Regions from separate parts of the Homo sapiens genome. Here region 2 is linked to region 1. The links are contacts of gene promoters, found by promoter capture Hi-C in blood cells and fetal thymus (Javierre and others, 2016). All regions are on one chromosome and are shown on one strand. Each heading gives the region's core, a stretch centred on a gene start or on the middle of the fragment in contact. The rest is flanking DNA. Distances are from core to core; before and after follow the strand shown. Region 1 holds the start of NOL3 (nucleolar protein 3). Region 2 holds the start of LOC107984821 (a long non-coding RNA gene).

Evidence for each region. Contacts are between HindIII fragments. The CHiCAGO score rates a contact against its expected background, and 5 or more counts as called.
Region 2: a fragment that was not itself captured here is called in contact with the fragment with the promoter of NOL3 in region 1 in 1 of 17 cell types (erythroblasts); the score reaches 6.8 in erythroblasts.

Annotation. Positions count from the first base shown.
Region 1 is chr16:67,167,821-67,173,797 of GRCh38, reverse strand. NOL3 (nucleolar protein 3) reads right to left here and starts at 3,260. Exons shown (of 4, transcript NM_001276309.3): 1 at 3,224-3,260. It overlaps HSF4 (heat shock transcription factor 4), which reads right to left. Exons shown (of 13, transcript NM_001374675.1): 9 at 5,851-5,977; 10 at 4,862-4,967; 11 at 4,697-4,762; 12 at 4,450-4,519; 13 at 3,857-4,167. The coding sequence ends at 4,013. RefSeq lists enhancers at 1-293, 3,514-3,663, 4,154-4,203 and silencers at 1,210-1,373, 3,014-3,303. The HindIII fragment of the contact is 13,408 bases long and covers 1-5,789 here.
Region 2 is chr16:66,901,671-66,907,647 of GRCh38, reverse strand. LOC107984821 (a long non-coding RNA gene) reads left to right here and starts at 2,388. Exons shown (of 3, transcript XR_001752244.2): 1 at 2,388-2,557. RefSeq lists an enhancer at 1,991-4,475. The HindIII fragment of the contact is 9,071 bases long and covers 1-5,977 here.

The sequences.
Region 1 (5,977 bases), core at 2,011-4,510:
ACCCCGTTTATCCAAACTAAGGTCTTTCTCTCAAATCTGCTTCCCCACCTAACCAGGCAGAAAAACCTAGGATTGATGCTGATACTCCACACCCAGCTTGCAGACAAGTCCTTTCCAGTCTGACTGCTGAATATTTCTCTCACCATCCTCACCACTTACTAAGTCCAGCCTTCTGCCTCCTGCTTTGGCCCTGCAGAACCCAGGATCAGAGCTCCCTGCTTCCATACTCTATCCTCCAGTCCCCTCTGAACCCAGAGCACAAAGTGCTGAGAGCCTCCCTGCCCCTCTCCCCTTACCTTGACCCTGATATCCAACTTTCCAGGACAAGCCCCGCCTCTACACCCTCCCACCAACACCACCACCATAGTGCAACCCCAATGTAGTCTCCTGGCCCTTCCTGGTCCCCTGATTCCTGAGCAGAGATACCAGAATCTTCTTCAGGCCTAGCTCTGACCAAGATCTCTTGACATCACCTGAGACCCACCTGTCTCCCTACTGAAGCCCTAACTCCTAATGTGACTGTCTCTCTGCTGACCCACCTGGCTCCCTGCTGACCTGGGAATTACCTACAGACATTTGTTGTTTGATCTTGAAGTACCCAAGGCCTAGCTCATACAGGATACCGACAAATACTTGCCGAACTTGGACTGATTTTCCTCCATGGATCGCACTATTTTGAGAGACTTTTTTTTTTTTTTTTTTGAGATGGAGTCTCGCTGTTGCCCAAGCTGGAGTGCAGTGGCGCAATCTTGGCTCACTGCAACCTCCGCCTCCCAGGCTCAAGTGATTCTCGTGCCCAGCCTTTTTTTTTTTTTTTTTTTTTAGAGGTGGGGTCTTGCTATATATATTTTTTGTATTTATTTATTTTAGTGGAGACGGGGTTTCACTATGTTGGCCAGGCTGGTCTTGAACTCCTGACCTCGTGATCCACCTGCCTTGGCCTCCCAAAGTGCTGGGATTACAGGCGTGAGCCACCGCGCCTGTCCTGGTCTTGCTATATTGATCAGGCTGGTCTCGAACTGCTGGCCTCAAGCAATCCTCCCATCTCAGCCTTCCAAAGTGCTGGGATTACCAGCACTTTGTGAACCACCATGTGAACCACCATGCCTGGCTCTTGAGAGACTATCTCTACCAACAGCGGCTATTAGGGAGAGTCAATCTGCTTTATCCATTTTTTTTTTTTTTTTTTGACAGAGTCTCACTCTGTTGCCCAGGCTGGAGTGCAGTGGCACATTCTCTCATCACTGCAACCTCTGCCTCCTGAGTTCAAGCGATTCTTCTGCCTCAGCCTCCCGAGTAGCTGAGATTACAGGTGCCCGCACCACGCTCAGCTAATTTTTTGTGTTTTTAGTTGAGACGGGGTTTCACTATGTTGGCTAGGCTGGTCTCGAACTCCTGACCTCGTGATCCACCCACCTTGGCCTCCCAAAGTGTTGGGATTACAGGCATGAGCCACCGCACCCAGCTGCTTTGTCCATTTATTGTCAACCAAGGATTATGGCCCATTCCTGTGAGTGGCCTGACCCAGCCAGCAAGACCCCCGGCATTAGGAGGCAAAGACATCAGGCCTTGAACCATGCCCTCAGCCCACCCCCACCCTGATAATAACTTCTTCTCCTCCCCGCCTTGGCTTTGTTCACACGGCATCCTCCCATCTCTTCTTCCCTTTGCTGTCCCTCCTCTGCCTCCTTCTCTGGCTCTAGGAGGCTCGGCCTTCTCTGGGAGAGAGGATTTAGTCCTAGCCGCCATCCTGCCTCCCAGGTCTTTCTCAGTACCCTCTGGTGTCACACTATACCTCCCCCGTCACTTCACACCCTGGCTTCCTCCCATTGAAGCCCTTCCCCACCAGGCCGAGACCAGGACTACCCCCTGCCCCTCCATCTCCCTTTATGTCCCGTATGTGATGAATCTTGCTTCTCCACTTCTCAGTGAGTCTCCATCAGCTCCTGCCTTGCCACCCCACCATCGTCACCTCATGTCCTGTAACAGTCCCTCTGAGCCCCTCTCACTCCCATTCTGCCAGGCCCGATAGCACAGTGACTTTGACAACCCTCTGGGCTAGGATTGCTGTTCCCATTTTACAGATGAGGAGACAGGCTCAGAGATTCAGTGGTAAAACTGGAATCTTACTTGCTCCAGCCTGAACTATGAGGAACTGAACTATATTTTCCTGTCTAGCAGAATTCCATCCTAAATACCTATCTACCTCCCCCCCACACCCCACTGCCCATCAGAGACAACCCAAAATATCTGGTCTGGCTACTCTAGCCTCCTCCCACCACCCTGGACAGCCAGGCCCTTCCCAGCTTCCCTCCACCAGCCAGGGATCGGAGAACTCACTATGCCTCTGGCACCTCGGAGCCTTTGCTGATGCTGATCGCTAAGACTGGAATCCTTTTCTCCTCCCTCCGCTCCGTGGACCTATCCATCGTCCAGGACTCAAATGTTCCCTTGTCTACACCAATGCCTAAGTGTCCCAAGGGCTGGTGGTTCCTTCTTCTGTGTACCGTGAACAACACATGCCCTCACTAGTGCATTAACTGACATCATTGCACTGTGTACACGCAGACTCTCCGCTTTCTTCAACTGAGTTTTCCAGAGTGTCCCTCCAATCGGTGGGCAAAGGAAGGGAGAGGGGGACAGCACCTACTCGGGACAGACACAGGGAGGGTGCAGATTGGATTGGCCCCTCCTTCTCTCCAACCTAAGTTGTTTTCATGTTAGCCGCCTCCTCCTATGACCCCAAGTCCTGCCCTTTATCCTGTCTGGGGGTAGAGACTCCAGCTGGTCTGGGCCCTCCCTTTGAGGCTCACACAGCTCTCAATACCGAAGTTATTTAGCGGCCAGTCCTTCGAGGGTGACAGGTCCGATTCTTCCCAGAGAGCCAGGTGGCGGGGCACGGAGCTGGGTCCCAGCCCCCAACCCCACCTCGCTGCGCGGGCTCTTTGGCCAGGAAGCCAGGGTCTTGGGACAGTGAAGAGCCTTTGCGCATGTGCGACTGCACGGATTTTCCCCCCCCGCCCCTTACCTCCCTCCACCCAGTCCCAGAGCTTGAGAGTCCTGCGGCAGGGCGGGGCCCACAGTCCTACCCACCCCGCCCCCCCGACCCCCGAGCGCCGCAGCGGGTGGTGGGGCGCTGATTCTGCCCAATCTCGGTTTCCCTTCCCTCCCACAGCCGGGAGTGGGGCTCCCGGTCTGGCCCGTTTTGGGCGTCCCCACTCACGGGTCAAGCCTCGGCGGGGCAGGAGATGACGGTGCAGAAAGGGCCGGGCAGGGTGGGGGTGGGTGCAGCAGCTGCGGCGGGGGCGGGGCGGCCAGGGCTGCTGGGAATAGGGAGGGTGAGGGTTCTTCCCCGGGCACTAGGAGCCACACCGCGGAGGCCGCGCGCTGGCTGGGGACGTGCATGTAGTCAGCTTTCCCTCCCCACCCGGGGCGCACCAGGAGATGAGGCCAGGAGGGGGCAGTTCGGCCCGCGGCCCCACACGTCCAGCGCCCACTCAGGGCCTGCCAATTTCCAGGTGCTTTCCATCTATCTTGTCATCGACCCCTCTTCTCTGCCTGTCACAGAGGAAGTTCAGAGAAGGATACCAACTCACCAGGATCACAGAACGCATGCATTGCAGAGCTGAGCGCGACCCAGAAGCCCCCGCTTCCCAGAGATTGCAGCGGCCCCGCGCCAGCCCTGGACCCGGGCCTAAGCAAGGGAGCTAGGCACCGGATCCCCAAGCACCTCCACCCTCCTGGGGTTCCTCTATTAAAAACCTAGTATCTGGACGCTTCTACAAATGCAAAATCACCCCCCACCCATAACTCCTGTGCTCCCTGGTCGATAGAGAAAAGAGACCAGAAACAGAAAAAAAAAAAACGGAGTTTATGTGCAGGGATAGTCGGGGTAGTGGAGAGAGGCCATTTAGTAGTGGGGGCTTCGCTCACCCCCGATAGGGGGCGCCAGGAAGCCAAGAAGGATGTGCAGCGGCGGACTGGTTCCAAGCCCCTTCAGAGGCGCGGGGTCTTAGGGGGAGGGACTGGCTTCCGGGCCCAAGTAGGAGGCAGTCCGGCTCTCAGGAGTGCTATAAATGGTTAAAGCCCCAGGCAGGCCCAGGGCTGGGCCTCCCAAGGCCGCCTGGACATCCAGCAGGAGTGGGGCCCCGAGCGTGGGGTCCTTCCCTAGGAGAAGTGGGACTGCGCTCACCAGGGGAAATGTTCCCCCTCCTTTCTTCAGGGAAGGAGAGCCCTGCCCGCCTGCCTTCTGCTCAGTTAGGATAAAACATCCATTCTTAACCTCCCCACTCTCGCCCAATGGTGAGGGCATGGGTGGCTCAAGGAACGCTCTGCAGTGCAGCCTGAACTCAGGATTTCCCTGCAAATTGCAGATTGCCCCCTCACTCAATCAAGGTAGCTCAGCCCAATCACGGCGTCCTCCCAGGTAGGAGTCATCACAACCATTACCTGGGCTTGGAGAATTTAACCCCTTGACCGCCAGCTCAGGCTCACCCCGCTCTGGAACCAAGGGCTGCATCTGCGTGAGAACCGCAGGGAGCAGCTGGGGAGGGGACCTAGCAGCTGAGGGGGACAGCTGGGAAATCACTGTGACAATTCTTCTAGAGACACGGCTTTGGCTCACAGAGAACAGCTATGGACCAGAGGGCTTGACTCAGCCACCCCTGGCCTCTGCCCTCCCCGACCCACTTCTTACCAAGGACAGCTCCATGTCCAAGTCCATCAGGGTCCATTCTCGCCCTTGGAGACTGGGGCCCAGCACCTGAGGAGAGCTCTGGGTCAGTGGTGCCCTCCCCAGGCTCCACAGAGAGCTAGACCCCACCAGGTCTCATGCCCCTGTTTCAGCAGAAGGGGTACTCACATCTAGAGGCCCTGCAGGTTCCACACTTTCTTGAGGGGGCTGAAGCAGCATCGGAGGCAGCAGACTCTCTGGGCTCCTGTCCCCGCTTTCCAGGCCCAGAGGCCCCCTGTGCAGACAGAACTGCTTTTGGCCTGCAGTGTCCACCCCGCATTAAGTTCCCAAGGAACCCAGATGCATCAAGATTTTAATCCCCCAATCTTTAGAAAATGATAGGAGAGGATCCCCATCCTCTCTCCACCCCCAACCTCCCCACTCCTGCCATAAATGGCACAGAGAAAGTGCCTCTGCTTCCTACCTGGGACCTGAAGTTTGGGTGGTGGAGCTGGGGCTTTGGGACCCTTCCCCTCCCTATGCAAGTATCAATATCCATGCTTCTTTCTCTTCTTTCTTTATTTCTTTCTTTCTTCCTTTCTTTTTTCTTTCTCTCTCTCTCTCTCTTTCCTTCTTTCTTTCTTTTCTTTTTTTTGGAGACAGTTTCACTATGTCACCCACTATGTCACTATGGCACTGTCTTGGCTAACTGCAGCCTCCACCTCCCAAGTTCAAGCGACTGTCCTGCCTCAGCCTCCTGAGTAGCTGGGACTACAGGCAAACGCCACCACACCCAGCTAATTTTTGTATTTTTAGCAGAGGCGGGGGGTTTCACCATGTTGGCCAGGCTGGTGTTGAACTCCTGACCTCAAGTGATCTGCCCGCCTCAGCCTCCCAAAGTGCTGGGATTACATGCATGAGCCACCTCATAGCCACCAATGCTTCTTAAACTATTGTGTACTTTGCAGTCACCCCAGGGAACTCATTTCATATGTAGGTTCCTAAGCCCTTCCGCAGATGCTGAGTGCCCTGACTGGGAGGCTCTGCTTTCCACAGAACTCTGATGCTGGGGCCAAGAAATCAGGTGAGTATCATGGAGTCAAATGGCTAGGAAGCTTTGTGGGCTGGTAAGGGCTGTTCTATCACAGGGCTCATGGGCCAGCTGGGGCTCTGCTCACCTGTCAGGTATCTCCCTGGGATCCCCTGGTTCAGGCTGTTGGGCATTCCTGGGCCCCTCGGGGCTGAAGCTCCCTTTCCCTTCCAGGATGGCCTGCACCACAGCCACAGGCAGTGGCGGGGGGGCTG
Region 2 (5,977 bases), core at 2,284-4,783, 270 kb after region 1:
CATGTGAGGTGAGGCTGGGGATGCGTCCTTCTGCCCCAGTGTAGGCTCCAAGGCACTGCTGTGTTTCACACACAGGCTGGTGAGTGCATGAGGGCATCTGCAGGAAATCAGAGAAGGGGAGTCACTTAGATGGAGACAATCGGAGCGGGACAGGCACCCCCGTGGCTTACTCTGGAGCTGCCCCTCTCTGAGGTGAACCCCTGACCCTGGCCCAAGATTAAGCCATGTCCTGATGCTCTGCTGAGCCCGGCTGAGCCCTGCTAAGTAGGAGCTGAGCTCTCCAGATTGACCTCTAATCCCTGACCTGTGGGTGACTCAAGATACATGCTGATCCCCATGTCCCCTTCTCAACCATCTCTGGGGAGTCAGGGTGGGACTTGCTGTCCCAAGCACCATGAGCTGATGATGGTCAATCACGGGAAAGGGAGAAAAACAACCTCTGTGGGGCCCAGGCCCTATTTTTAGGAGATAATCTCTCCACTATTGGCAGATTCTGTGGGATAGGGGCCAAGCCCAGCTAAGAGAGACAGGGCGGGCAACCTGGCAAAGACTCAGCCAGGATCCCCAGCCCAGGGGTTGGACTCTGAGGCTGGCCCCTGTCATCCTGGCTCAGGTACCCCCACTGGAGGCTCTGCTGGCTACCCTCATCCAGGCAGGGATTCCCTGCCCCTCTGCCAGGATATCCTCTGCTCAGCCTGCATGCACTCAGAAGTCTTCAGGGTGCAAATCTTCTGGAGGTAGTGTCTCATCTAATCTTCCTATCAACCTACGAGGGTGGATTATTGGCCCCATTTTGCAGTGGAGGATCTTGAAGATCAGGGAGGTTAAGGGCCGTAGCTGGGAGTCTTAGAACCACGGTACATGGCATAACTATCTGTCCAAGGTCCGTGTTACCTCTCTGGAAATGTCCACAGCGTTCAGGTGGTCTCTGCTCCCTCAAGATTTCCCAGCAGGGCCTTAGAGATCACCCAGATCAGCTCTTTCTTGTAAAGATGGAAAGGTGAATTGCAAAGAGAAGGAGGGAAATTTCTAGGTTCATACAGCCATAAGATGCGTCACTTGAGCTATAACCACCACTTTCTGGCCCTTATCCTAGATGGATAAGTAGGGAGATAGGAGGGTGCATGGGTGAATGAATAAGTGGATGGCTAGGCAGATGCATGGCTGGATGGATTGGTGGGTAGATGGATGGGTGGGTTGGTAATCGGGTGGATGGGAGACCCACAGACGAAAGGGTGGATGACAGGATACCAGGGCAAATGAAGGCATCTGCTCTAGTTTGAGGGCTTCTTCCTCGGGCCTCCAGGCCCCGGACCACTCTTGGTTGTCACTGCTGGAGCTGACCGCCAGGTCCACAAGCCCCTTCTCCACAGACAAGGGCCCAGGTTCCTTGGGCATCTGGGGACATAAAACTCTCCTGTATCCTCAGCCCCATTCTGCAGAGGAAGGTGGCCAGGTGCGGTGGCTCATGCCTGTAATCCTGGCACTTTGGGAGGCCAGGGTGAGAGGATTGCTTGAAGCCAGGAGTTCAAGGCCAGCCTAGGCAACAAAGTGAAACTCTGTCTCTACATAAACAGAAAGAGAGAAAGGTGAGGATCAGAGAGGGGGTGTGGCTTATCCTGGGTCGCAGAGGAAGAGAGACACAAAGCTGATTGGTCTCTAGGCTTGGCAGTGGGCCAGTGAATGCCTGTAGAGATTAATGCTAGTGAGGCAGGCTTCATTCTGTAGGCAGGGCCTCGCCCCTGCTAGAGCAAGGTGGGGGCCAACCAATAGCTCTATGGGTAGAAGAGCATGTGTTGTGCTTATCCATGCGATGTGTTCCCAGGAAAACTGCTTCACCTCTCAGAGCCTTGGCTTACTTGGTGATACAAGTTTTTGTCGTTAGGAAAACTACATGAGATAATCCCTGCACAATGCATTTAGCACAGTGCCAGGCACTGCAGGGCTCAGTAAATGTGACTTTCCCCAGTGCATGGATTGTTGAGGGACCTACATCCCCGCACTTACACACACTCCCTAGAGGTCCCAAGAGGCCCAGGCTTTTGGGAGGGAGTTTGGAGAGGGGCCCCAGCTCCAGCCCCAAAGCAAGAGTGCAAGACACCCCTTCCAGCCCCAGCTCCCTTCCAGTGCCCAGGTGCTCTTAGGGTCTGTGATGTCCAGGGTCTCACAGGGTTCTGGGCTGGAGCTGGAGGGGGTTGAGGGGTGGGCCCCAGCAGAGGCCTCATGCTCCCCTTCTCCCAGGCCCCTTCCAGAGGCACTGGGCCAGATCAAAGGGACCCAGCACGGAGGATCAGGAGGCAGCTTGGAAAGAATGTAAACATGAGGATATTTTTAAACTTTTTCCAGCCCCAGCGATTAGGGCTCTTGAAGCCGGAGGCCCAGAGGTCAGTCTGGCCCTCACCCACAAAGAAAGCAACAGTCTCGGGCCCTCAGAGACCCCACCCCACCCACATCTACCTACACCCACCCAGGACTCTAGCTGGGGCCTCGGGGCAGAAGTTCTTCCTAGGGTGTCACCTCCAGACACACTGCTGCGGCGGGAGGATGCGTTTCTAATGTGAGGGCCTCAGCGGCATGGGACCCTGACTTAAGGGGTGGTGGGGGCCTACCAGACAGGGCTGATGTTGGAAGACTGAGCTTGGGAGGCTTCTTAGTGGCCCAGTCACTCTACCAGGCGTGTGTGCACACGTGTGTCTGTGGGTGTATAAGTATATGCTGCAGTCTGGTCTGTGTGATGCACGCATCGGAATGTGTGAGTGTGCGAGGAGCTTGCCTCGGCCCACCCTTCCTCGTTCTTCCCTAGCATCCCTGACCTCCTCCCTGGGACCCCTTTGGTAGGTGGGTGACATGGGGGGGGTACAAAAGAGGAAGAGTCGCCTGAGAACAGGGAGGACGCGAGGAGAGAAAGGCGCCAGAGCCGGGGGCGAGGAGGCTGGGGGTACCAGGTCCGGGGCCATGCAATGAGTCAGGCTGTGAGAGCTGCAGGAGTCACTGATGTGGGGACTGGGACTCGGCTCCCTCCATCACCCCCATGTGTCACAGTTGGAGATGAGGCTCCCTGGATCTCCCGATTCCGGTGTCACAACTACGCTCACCATGGGTTCCATGACAACAGCCTCTTACCTTGTAGTCACGCAGCTACCCTCACACCCTCACAGGAGTGTCACAGGACTCATGCAGGGCCCCCCCAACACCACCCAGTGGTCGTATCCCAGTGACCCCTATCTGTGAGACATGAGGACCCTCACTGTCTTCACATCCCCACTGACCAGAAAGCCAGAATTCACAGGGGCACTCAGAAGCCAGACTAGACTGTGGTCACCAGGACAACGGGGTACCCAGCCCCTGGAGAGGCCTCGGCTGGCTATCTCATTCTCCAGGGGCTGCTGTGCCACCTTGCCCTGCTTGTGGGCCCTGAGAGGGACAATGTCCAGCTCCATGTCATACAGCTCCCCAGTGAAGGGCAGGGCTCAGGCCCCAGCTCAGGATCAATGTGGCGATGGCATCCCCTCCAGATTCCCCCTGCTGAGGCAGCAGCCACAAGGGATGAGGCTTGGAGTTTTACCCTAAGATGTGGTAGGATTTTGGGCCCAGGATGATGGGGGAGCTAGGTGGGGCTGGAACTGATGGAAAGGGGAACCTGGAGACTCATCCTCAGTCTGAGGCTGAGGCTGGACACCTAAAGACATGGTTTGTGTCCCTGTGGGTGCCCACTCACTGGGGCTGTTGCTATTCTTATCCACCTCCCAGTGGCGGTGGCAGTGGTAGTGGCAGTAGGGTCAGAGATAGCTGCTACGTGGGAGAGAGTCATGAGCACCAGCCCTTTATCTGACACATTCCCTGGAAACTTGGCAGGGCCTGCCAGCCTCTGGGGGCCTGGGCGGGGCAGGGCGTGAGGTGGTCACAGGGATAGGATGAGGGGGCTGGGCTGGGCTCAGTGCCGATGAGGACCCGCTCCAGCTGCCTCTCCCACAGCCAGGCAAGGTCCCCTCAGAATTGGCCTGGGGGGTTCTAGTGAGATTTCTTCCCATGCGGAGACTAAGACCACAGGTCACCCTCAGCTCCTACTCACCCTCAGTCCAACCCAGAACACCCCACCGTTGGCCCCATCTCTGAGCTTTGGGCACTCCAGAGAACAATGTATTGGCTTCCTCAGTGATGTGGCTTCTTCCACGGGAGAGCACTGAACTGTGAGCCACAGTGGCCCCATCTGGTGGCTGTCCTGCCTACTTCCCAGCCTCGTGATCTTGGGCAAGTCAATTCCCATCTCTGAGCCTCAATTTCCTCATCCCTCTCCTGGGCTGTGGTGGAGATGACAGGGTCCAGTGGTCAGGAAGCAGGCTGACGGCTGCAAAATGTGAGTGTGTGTGCACGTGAGCACTTGGGTGGGGGGGCCAGAGTGGGGAGAGGGAGGCATATGGGTCTCCCACTTTGGGAGACTCCCGCCCTATGGATTTTCCACTGGCATGTCGGCACCCTCTCCCCTAAAATAGGCTCTACGAGCCGTGTGCGACAGAGCCCAGACTGAGGGGCCTTTTTTTAGCTGGCCTTTGATTGTCAGCTCTCGAGCAGCTGCTATTTTGAGCCCCAACGCCTAGAGGAGTAGGGCCAAGTGGGGGCTGAGGTTAGCTCAGTGGGCCTGGCTGGCTCCCCGAAGGCATCCCCAAGGGGGCTGGCCATCCCATCTCACACCCTGCATTGCTGGCAAGGAGAGCACGACATCTCCTATAGATGGGGCCTAAGGGCTCCTCTGTCTACCTCTGCGGAAGCTGCAGACCTGGCAGAAAACAACCACATTTACAGAGCACACCCCACAGGCCACTGCCCACCCACCCCCACCCAGAGAAGAGCATGCTGTGGGGATTAACTGAGATAATACAAGCAAAGCCCTTACTTAGCACAGAGGCTGGCACATAATTGGCTCTCAAAAAATGGAACAGCTTCTGTTATTATTGTCATTACAGCTGCAGTCATTCTTGGTTTTGTTGTTATAGTTATGTTTTTACCAGATTTCTTTCCAGTCTTTTTTCTATGCATTTATTTTATGTTACTGGGTTCGGGACATGACCCTTCCCACCCCATCCCCATACATGTGTACACGCCTAGTTTCAGCAGAAAGCAGCCCCTCTCAGTCTGCTGGGGTGCCCTCTATGTCTCTGTGCTCCACTCCATACAGGAATCCCCCCTTCTATATAAGGCTTTTGGGGTTGACCCTCGAGATGGCACTTGACCTTTCAGAGTGGATGTAGTTGTGCCCACAGCTTCTGTGATTTCTTCAAATGCCATCAGCCACTGCCCCATAGGATTCCAGGCCCCCAATTCTGAATGTCCAGTTCTAGATGCTAGATCCCTGGCTGGCCACTGTACCTGGGTTCTAGAGCCCTCTGACTGGAACCTGAGGAAATGGGCTTGGTCCACAGCTAGATGTGAGAAAGTGGCATTGCCACTGCATAAGGCGTGGCAATGGATCCTAAGGACAAATGTAGATGCTCTGGGACTCTGGTTATGGGGTGTGTGTGTGTGTGTGTGTGTGTGTGTGTGTGTGTGCAGGGGTATGGGCTGCTGAGAAGAGGGGGATGAGGGTAGGAAGCCAAGTTCTGGGAAGTGGCTGGGGCAGGCCCTCCCCTTCCCTATTGGGGTCACTTCCCAGCAGGGCAGCAAGATCAGCTGGGGTTGGGGGGTCATATGTTCCATCCTTGTCCCAAACAGTTACTGCACAAGGTGAGACTTCCTTGTTACCCGAAGGACAAAAATAGGTCCCAGGTGATGGGCCACGATCCATGCCCAGAACCACAAGGGTTATTCTGAGTGGCAGGCACAGGGCCAGGCCTGGCCTCAGTCAGGTGGACCTGAGCTGGCAGTGGCATCCTCAGCCTGCGGGCTTGCTCTGTCCATTCAGGGACCCTAAATGTAGGTCGGGGGCTGGAACTGCGTGCAGGCTGACGCTCGATCGGTAGGGGCTTGAGTCCCAACTCCG